Linked DNA regions of Homo sapiens: region 1 is linked to region 2. Evidence: promoter capture Hi-C in 16 types of primary human blood cells and fetal thymus (Javierre and others, 2016). All regions are on one chromosome and are shown on one strand. Each heading gives the region's core, a stretch centred on a gene start or on the middle of the fragment in contact. The rest is flanking DNA. Distances are from core to core; before and after follow the strand shown.

What was found. Contacts are between HindIII fragments. The CHiCAGO score rates a contact against its expected background, and 5 or more counts as called.
Region 1: a fragment that was not itself captured here is called in contact with the fragment with the promoter of EPGN in region 2 in 2 of 17 cell types (endothelial precursors and M1 macrophages); the score reaches 5.3 in endothelial precursors.

What each region holds. Positions count from the first base shown.
Region 1 is chr4:73,572,805-73,577,677 of GRCh38, reverse strand. It overlaps RASSF6 (Ras association domain family member 6), which reads left to right. Exons shown (of 11, transcript NM_177532.5): 9 at 947-1,065; 10 at 1,171-1,268; 11 at 1,368-4,873. The coding sequence ends at 1,443. Among named protein-coding and RNA genes, the nearest start is that of RASSF6, 45 kb to the left of the region's middle. The HindIII fragment of the contact is 213 bases long and covers 1,455-1,667 here.
Region 2 is chr4:74,307,126-74,312,415 of GRCh38, reverse strand. It overlaps EPGN (epithelial mitogen), which reads right to left and starts at 3,946. Exons shown (of 5, transcript NM_001270989.2): 1 at 3,840-3,946; 2 at 3,234-3,323; 3 at 111-231. The coding sequence starts at 3,882. The region is part of intron 2 of LOC105377276 (a long non-coding RNA gene); the gene reads left to right. The HindIII fragment of the contact is 2,238 bases long and covers 2,867-5,104 here.

The DNA.
Region 1 (4,873 bases), core at 312-2,811, 730 kb after region 2:
CCAACTGCTTCAGAAATGGCAGAGGAATTAGAACAGTAAACACTGACACTATGTGAACAGGAATGGGTAATATCACTTTAATTGTGGGGAGGCTGGGCTTTTGAGTTCTAGACTCTCTCTTGACTCTTTTCCTGGGATAAGTCCAGCTCAGGGAATGAGAACAGTTCTCACTGTTCTGAAGAAAGTAAGCAAGGTGAAGGAGAGAATGAGGAAATAAGATGAATATAAGGACACTATGTTTTGTTCATGCTTTATTCTGATAAAAATGAAATCCCAGATGTGAAACTACTTTGACAGAAAGCTATAAGTACTTTTGTAGCAGGAGTATTTATATTATAACTTTTGGAAATTTGAAGTTCTGGAAACACACCAGATTGGAAGATATTTTCTTTCTCTATCTCATTTTCATGGCTGAATGGATTAAGCCCAGATGAATGAATAATAAGAATATTATTGATCTCAAAAACCTCATGAATATATTTTTAAAGATGAGCCAAGAATTGGGTGTGGAGCGAGACAAAGGAAGAATTGAAAATAATTACATGGTTTTGGACCTGAAGAACCAGAAAGATGGAATTACATCAACTCAACTTGGAAAGAACCAATAAATATTTGTTGTATGGATGAAGGAATGGTGGAATGAAACCTAAATAATTATTGAGGCATATTGCTTTATAAAAGGCCTATCAGACCGGAGATTTGTTTGAACACTCTAATCAAAGGAAGGCTGAGTTCTTTGAGACATTAATCAAAACTTGAGATACAGTAAGAGAAAGAAGTTCATTTAAGTTTTAATTTCAATTTGCTTTTTTGAGTAATTGCCTCCTGTTGCAGGTGTTATTTTTTTCAAAGTGAGTTAAATACGAAAAATAAATTGGAAAATTATCTTCCTTCTTTTCCTGCAGCATGAACTTCTGATTGTGGTTGATTCTTGTTTTCACTGCAGAACAAAGACGACTAAAGAAGACAGACATTCCGCTACTGCAGAGGCTCCTACAGGGACCTTCTGAAAAGAATGCTCGCATTTTCCTCATGGATAAAGATGCAGAAGAAATTAGCAGTGATGTATGAATACCATCACCCTGAATCTGTTTTTTGCTTCCCTCCTGACTCAGCACCTCTTGCATAATTGTTCTGCTTTCTTTTTTTTTTCTTCTTCTTCTTTCTTAGGTGGCTCAGTACATTAACTTTCACTTTTCTCTCTTGGAATCCATTCTTCAAAGATTAAATGAAGAAGAGAAAAGAGAGATTCAAAGAATAGTAACAAAGTAAGTCAAGAGCATGCACATTGGATACTCCGTTCTTTAATATGTCCAATGCACAAAATATGTCCAATTTTTAATAGTCTTTCTTCTTCTCATTTTCAGATTCAATAAAGAAAAGGCGATTATACTGAAATGTCTTCAAAATAAACTAGTAATAAAAACAGAGACAACAGTTTAGCAGTACAAGCTTCTATTGCTAAAACATTTCAAAAAACTCAGAGATATTACTCTTTGATGAATGCATAAGTTCTGTACTTGCATTTATACGAACATATATGAGACTTGAATCGTAGAAAATTGAATGTCAAAAAAAGCTCATTTCTTTTTGAAGTGATGAGGTTAATTAGGGTTCACAGTTGGACAAAATGAGTTTGAGTTTAGTTTCAGTAACTGAAATAAGCTTGAATACTGCATATGCCAAATAGCTTTTATAGTAAACCATGTAATGAACTCAAATTTAAATGGTGTCTTCAGATAAGCAGTTTAAACTTCATTTAGCTTGGACTCTCAAGAGAACTGAAACATAATCAATGGATTCAGAAATGACTCAGAAAAAAGAAGCTGCCAGTTCTTGGAATGAAAAAGAAATACAGTCTTACACCATCAAGGAATCTACCTGATAGTGACAGTAGCTTCTTGAAAACTCTGGCATTTTCATAAAATCTAGGACTATCTTAAATGGCCTGTTGACTTCTGACTATCTGTAACATCAGAGCTGTCTGGCCTTTGGAAAGGAAAAATTATGGACTCTGTTAAGAAATCCTAATTGAAATTTTCTGAACCTCCCCCCAGCCCTTTTATTCTCTCTCTTCTGCTGATGAAAGACCTTTCATCAGTTCAAAGCTTTTCTTAAGCTCTTTTTTAAGTTAATTGAACTTTTTCTTTATTTATTTTTCAAAAAAATGTTTATATCACATAGACATATTACATCGGCTAAAGTAAGACTTGGCCCACAAATACCTATTTGTTGCTGAATGAATACAATGGATAAAGCAAGGCTGTTGTAGCTGAAGTTACATAGGGAATCCCAAACTCTGCCCTCTTAGCATCTTATTCTACATGACAACTCTCAAGGTACTCACAGATCTGTTTAACCCACTTGAAAAAAAAACACTAAAAATGAAGAAATGCTATAAGTATAAACTATGATTTTATTTATAAATTCTGTATTAAAATGGAATTATATGCAACATTCTTTCATTCTGTAAACTAATTCCATTTGCATTCCTCATAAGCATTGTAGTAAATTGATCATATTACATGTACTAAGGAATGAGATTATATGCAGTAAACCCAACTGGAAGATTAACAATATTAAAATATGAAACATTTTTAAGACAAAGGCATTACTTCTCAGTATTACCAAACCTAAACTGGTTGAAGGTGAAAGTGTGCTATGGCCTTTTCAAGCCTAAGAAGTCTCTCTTACTGAGTAAACCAGAGGCTTGCATCGCTATTCTTTCACCTGTCAATATTAATAAGAAAATAGTCTCATCTCACTTAAATGAGGCAAATGTAATAGTTAAAATTCAACATACTTATAAAAAACTAGTGTCATGTACCTGCCATGAACATGACAAAAGGTTAGTCTTCAATAGACTGAAATGTATAAGAGAAGAACCAAGTCTTACATAGAAAAAAAAGGTAGATATGAAAAGAAAAATCACAGAAGAGAGAATGCAAATGGCCACTAAGTATATGAAAAAAGTCGTATCTTAACAGTGAACAACTGTGTTAGTCTGTATCAATCAGAAGACAGAAACAAGGTAGTAATTTAAACAGGGAAAGTTTAATATAAATAATAATTAAGCTATGATAGGAGAATAATAATAAAGATGAAAAGAGAAGGTACCCTAAGGCTGAGGGAAAGAATCCTAACAAGGAAAGGCAGGAATGAGGGTTTCAGAATTCACTGGAGAAGGTGTGGTTGCAGCCCACTGGAGAGAAGTTTGCTGGCTTGCCCAGGCCAGAGCAGGACCACAGATACTGGACAAGCTGGTACAGCCAACCCCCTAGGTGTGGACCAGCTGAGGCAGGTGGGCAGATATGCAGAGGGACTTGGGGCTTTGCCAAAGGGTAAGCACAAAGAAGGAGTCACGGGTTCTGTTCGAGGCACTGTTGGGATTAGGAGCCGGAGGGACCTACTTTGCAGGAACCTAGCATAACTTTGTGTGACGAGACTGCACAAGACAAAGCTCAGGCAAGTGGCTCAGTAGTTGGCCAGCCCAGCAGGGTCCTCTGTATGAGTGTGCACCCAGCTGAAGAGAAGAAATGGAGAGCAGCAATTGGAGCTTCAGGACCGGCTTGCACTGTGGCTCCAGGTTATACCACCACTGCCCAAAGCAAAAGCTAGAGAAGCAAGTGGAGAAATGCTGGAGAAAGCTGCACCCTACAGGCAACCAGCACTGCAGAAACCACTCCAGGCAAAGTAGTGAAGGAAAAAAGCCTGCTCTCCAGTAGCCTGGCCTGTCAGCCTGGAGGAATCAGGAAAGACCCCTTCCTCTTGCAGTGTGTCTCCAGCGCCCTCTACTGACAAAGTATGCCATCATGCAAGCTGCAAAGGAAACATTTCAAGAGTCTATATCTATTTTCACGGAGCGGGCAACCAACAGTGAATGTGGAGCTGAGAGACAGTAAAATAATAACTGACATGCCACCGAAGTACAAAGTAAAATAAATAAATAAATACACATTTTGGCCTATTAGCAAAGATTAAGAAATGATAACATTAAATACTCAATAAATCACCATGAGATGGGGACTCAAACTTCTGGTAAAAATACAAATAGATATAATTTTTCTTGAAGGCAATTTAGTAGTCTGTTTATCCTATAATTCTACTTGTAAGATCCTATCATATGAAAATAACCAGAGATACAAAGACATTCTGCAAAGATATGTTTTATATTGTTATTTATTGTGACAAAAGGAAATAAAAAGCCTAAATGTTCAGAAAATTATTTTAAAAGATGAAAGAGGGAAATAGGCCATGGACGGTGGCTCACGCCTGTAATCCCAGCACTTTAGGAGGCCAAGGTAGGTGGATCACTTGAGGTTGGGATTTCGAGACCAGCCTGGCCAACATGGTGAAACCCTGCCTCTACTAAAAATACAAAAAATGAGCCGGGTGCAATGGCAGGCACCTATAATGCCAGCTACTCGGGAGGCTGAGGCAGGAGAATCGCTTGAACCCGGGAGGCGGAGGTTGCATGAGCCGAGATGGCGCCACTGCTCTCCAGCCTGGACGACAGAGCAAGACTCCGTCTCTAAAAAAAAAAAAAGAGGGAAATAAACATTTATTTGTATATTGTTATGTAGCCATTAAAATTCTGTTTCCAAGTAATTTTAATTACAGGGGTAAATTCTTATATATCTAAATAAGAATATACACATACACATGTTCCAAAATATTTATTATGTACTTAAGGCATATATATTATATATGTATGTGTGTGTATATATATATGTATTTGTGTGTGTGAACACTAATATTTGCATATATATACACACAAGAAATAAAAACATGTTAAAAATGGCTATATCTGCATTGTAGAATTATGAGTGATTCATGTTTTTCTAACTTCCCTATCTGTATTAAGTGTTCTATA
Region 2 (5,290 bases), core at 2,697-5,196:
ATGCACCCTTTTAAACTAAAGAGAGAAAAGTGTGGAAATGTACTATATGAAACAACAGAGACATAAACTCATCTCCTGTCTCTAGGACTTGGATATTTCTTTGCATTTACCTGCAGATGGCTTTCTCTAGCTCATGGTGGAATGCACAAGCACCGTTGATGCAGTAACTGTTATGATCTTCCAGGCAAAGGTGTGAGAACTTCAAGGCTATGGGTCCTTCTATGTTGTCAGCTAGGAAAAGGAGATACAATGTTAGCAAATGAAATGTGTCTTACTTTTATGGTAAATTTTTAATACATATGTAAATAAATTTTTAATTTTAAGGATATTTGGGGGTGGTGCTGTGTCCTTTAAACTATTGATTCTCTTAGCAGGTTGTATTCACAAGGGCTGGGTTAATATCATCTAGACATATGACATATTATTAATTAATTAGGGGATGGAGGTGGATTGATGATTGTTTCACTTTTTAGAAGCAATGCAGTAAGACAGAAAAGGCAACAAATTCACCAAAAGGTGGCAGCATTGGTTCTAGTCTTAGCAGGTTATTTTGAGCGATGCTTCCCAGACTTGTGTCTGAATACTAATTAACATAGAAGATCTCACATAATATTTCGATTTTCTTCCTTTACACCTGAGAAGTCAGCACTTGCGAAGATTTGAATTTACACTTGTGAGATAATAAACAAGATTCTTATTCCTGATTCTCTCTGATGTACAAAAGACAGACCTATGCCATTCTTGGTGTTTATGCAGTGGGAGTGACCCTTAGGTAAAATTGCCTAATTGAGTCCTTTGGGGCATACTTTATTGATTCTTAAATGTTTCTCAAACAGAATTAATGGGATTTTACTTGTCATTTTTATAAATAAACATATTTCCTCATCATTATGATAAAGGTATACCATATTTGCCTTGCTAAGATTAAGAGAATCTTACTTGTTTGTAGGGAAAAAACAGTTTTAAAAGGCATTCTTTTTTATATTAAAAATGCTAAATCTTTAGATGTTAAGATTACAAACAAAATACTATGTTGTATTACTTTATTTTGGTGAGAACACACATTATCTTCTAATTCACGTTCATTTTGTTGAATAGGATGAATATAATTTATCATTTTAATAATTAATTCTCAGGCAGTGAGAATTTTCCATTATAAACTGTGCTGGGTGCTTTCTATTTCAAGACTAAACAAGTTCGATTAACTAAGCCTGAAACTAGATTTGGTAGAAAAATGTGAGAATTAAGCCATTTCTAAAGAAAAGTTATACCAGAGAGACTCATCTTTCCCCTAAGAATGAGAATGATCATAACTTTATAAAAATTTTTCTAAGATACTAGATTGATATTTTTAAGTTAGATAAAAAACAAAAGGAAAAATTAAAGTTCTCCATCAAGAAAGCAAAGGAAAAATACAGAAATGATATACAGTTGTACCTCTGTATTCATAGGTTCCACATCTGTGGATTCAACCAACCTCATAGGGAAAATATTTGAAAAAAAAGCATCTGTACATAACATGTACTGACTTTTCTTGTCATTATTCCCTAAACAATGCAGTATAACAACTATTTGCATAGCGTTTACAATGTTTTAGGCATAACTAATCAAGGGATGATTTAAAGTACATGGGTGTGTGTCTATAGGTTATATGCAAATATTTCACTATTTTATATAAGGGATTTGAGCATCTGTGGATTTTGGTACCCTCTGGGCAGGAGGAGGAGGTCTTGGAACCAATGTTCAACCAATAACGGAGGATGACTGTATTGGATTCCTTTTTACCATTATTATTACTTGTAACTCAAAATATTTTATTTGCTGTTCACCATTAAGGAAGAAAAAAAAATTTAGTACTGAGCATGCTATTACGAAGTCAGTCATTGAGAGAAAACTATGCTTCTTTAATTTTCTGCAGTATATTATCTTCTTTTTTTTTTTTTTTTTTTTTTTTGAGACGGACTCTCACTCTGTCACCCCGGCTGGAGTGCAATGGCCCCATCTCAGCTCACTGCAGCCTCCACCTCCTGGGTTCAAGCAATTCTCCTTCATCAGCCTCCTGAGTAGCTGGGATTACAGGCATGCGCCACCACGTCCAGCTAATTTTTGTATTTTTAGTAGAGACAGGGTTTCACCATGTTGCCCAGGCTGGTCTCAAACTCCTGACCTCAGGTGATCTGCCCGCCTTGGCCTCCTAAAGTGCTGGGATTACAGGCACGAGCCACTGTGCCAGGCCAGTATAATATAGTACTGAATATAATAATTATAATAAGGTGTTTCCTCTTTGTTTGAAGGCTTAGAAGACAAATAGTTGGCTAAAAGTTATTCTATAACCCACATTGATTTCGTTTTGCAAATCAACAGATATTCAAAAAATCAAATGGGTAAAATATTTCGAGACAATCATTTAAAATTTTAAATTATTGGTGACATGAAGAACACTGAGATATGACAATCTTCCTTTATTTGCCTGACTCTGAGTGCAAGACATTGTTTCCTCTGTCCTAAATCAAATTGCCAGCCTTCACATAGCAATCAGGATGCGATTTGCAGAAGAATCATAACCACTCAGTCACAGGTCTTGGTAAGCAACAAGCTTTCCAAGTTTCACCTCTAAGAGTTTAAACAGATTAGAGAAAGAACGCTGATGCTCAAGAGCATCCAGAAGCCACTGTGATAATAATTAAGTGCAAAAGAAAATATATCATTACCATCAACAACAAAAATTGGGTACAAGTGGTTAGGAAATACAGCATATGCTAAAATAACAACAAAAACTCCAAAGCAAACAAGAAAAAAAGGTCATTCCAAAGATGAGGGAAAGTGCTGTTCATCTTGTAGCCATAATGTCTTTGGCATCAAAGCTTATAATCACAGATCAAAATATAATGCTGCTCATCAAGAATGCCAAAATGGGGACAAACTGTCTCTGTACACACAGGGGTTATTGGGAACCAAGCAGAAATGAAGCAGAAAATGTGGCCTGTTTCACATTCAAGACAGTAACTGAAGACAGCTTTTGTCTCATTTGCTTAACTTCCTCCTTTTAAAAAGGCAATTATTTCCTGGCACATTTATCTGTCACTTCAATTTAACAGCATCCTGCTAAAAGAGCTGATTATCTAATAATAAAATATATATTAAAAATGGCCAATATTGCTTTTATCACAATCCAAATTTCTCTCCCAAGTTTTAGAAAAGTCTTGTGAAATATGAAAATGGGAAGAAAATACCTTCTGTTTTGTTAACTGTCCAGTTACCTTGCTGGGCTGTGATTGGAGGTGTTACAGTCACGGCTGCCTCTTCGGTCAGTGCTGTCATTGCTGTATTAAGGGGGCAAAAGCATCTTTAACAGAGAGCCTCCTTCTATGTACAAGCAACAGATGGAAAGTATTCTTATTCTGTTTATTCCAATTTCTATTTTTTTAATTTATTACAGTTGAAATCCATAACGTGACTAGGGCAACATACTTACAGTTTCTCATCCATTCCATTGACTATATTAGGATTAAAGCAAATAAAAACCCAATATTTAAGACCATTGATACATTTACATATTAATTAAAAAATAAGAACCCTATAGTATAGTAGCTAAATGTATCAATTACTCTTCAATTGTATAAAGCAAACATTCTGGAGGTCTCAAAAAAGGTGTCAAAATATATTAGGAAAGGAACATACAGGACATAAGAAACTAAATTAATCCACAGATTCATTACTCTGATCTTTGTCATAAAGAACAACTGTTAGAAGCCAACTTCTCTCTAATGCAGAGAAAATAAATTCTATTCACATTTTACACTGATATAAAGTTAACAAAACAAAAGGAAATTACCTACCGTTGAATAAAAGATAGACTGATATTGGAACTCCCAAAGCCATTTCCTGTAGTTGCTTAACTTTCTTTCTCTTATCCTTCTAGACTGACGGGTGGAAGGTTTTTATTGAGCTCTCTGAGTCTTTGTTGCATTTATATTTCATGAAGCGTCATCTGGCAGTTCTTACCAATCAAAAAAATATGTACTTCTGGCAGCAGCAGAAAGCCTCTGGGCGCTCACGCACTTGGTTAGGATACCTGTATTATCTAGCAATGTGATCAAGTTTTCTTTTGAAACACTGGTTTCCTGTTACCTGTGGGCATAATCATGTATGTAAAAGTACTTAAAACAACAAGAACAAAATGTAATTTCAGGAAAGGCTCCCATTGGTGTGAAGAGAACTATACCAGCTCAAACTATGCTAGAAACCTATACGGGAGTTCAACAAACATAACTGCAAATTAGGAAGCAGCATAACCTGTTTCTAAAAGAAATATACCTGAAACTATAGTTGGTTATACCACCTTTTATTACAGACTATAAGTTCCATTTCAAATCAAGATAATTTGTTAATTTAGTTGCAGAGAACAGTTAAATTTGTGAAAACACAGAGGTTTCATATTCCATTTTAGTGTTTGTTTCTTAGTGTTACTATGACAAGTGCTGTAAATAAAATTATTTTTAATAGTATAATATTCACCTTTCTGTCATCCTGCTATTTAACATTTTTCTGAGTAAATGAAATGGGCTGCCATATTCCAGGAACAACAATGCTTAAATCTGCATCCCAATGATTAAGCTACAGAGAACCAGTAAAGTACCAACATAATGATAATAGCAATAATAATAATATTAAAATTCTCCATTAAGAGAAAATTAAGATGACATTTAGTTTGGATACATCCAATGAATAGAAAGTTTCTAAGTTAATACAACATTCAAATTATTTCTCAAGTTCATCTAGTTGTAATTATTAAAGTGGCACTTTAAAGGCCAAAATATGTCATTACAGCTACTATATTTTACAACTACAGAAATTTTCACTTGCCCCAAATTAATATAAATGATTTATAAATATATCTTCCTGAGGCATTGAGTCTTTCTGTCTGGAATTTCAATTCCTTGTATTTTCTTGAAACTTGAAACCTCAAAACCCTAAAAACATATTCAAGTCAAGATAGGTTATCTTTTGCATCATGTCCACTCAGCAAATTAGATTTACCAGAAAGGAGCCCTTTCACTATTCAAATATAAATGTGGTGTTAGAAATCACACAAGAACAAGCTTGTTGAACTCATTATAACTTGGGCAATCACTTGCCACAGGAGTCATCATTTTAAAGTTAAAATAATATAATAGTACTTGGCTCGCTTTAAATGTGTCTACATTTTGCATTTCTACTTTTGTAGGTTTTTAAAAAACTGTTGATTACTAAGTCGATTTCTAGATAATATATTTCCCAGGCAAATAAC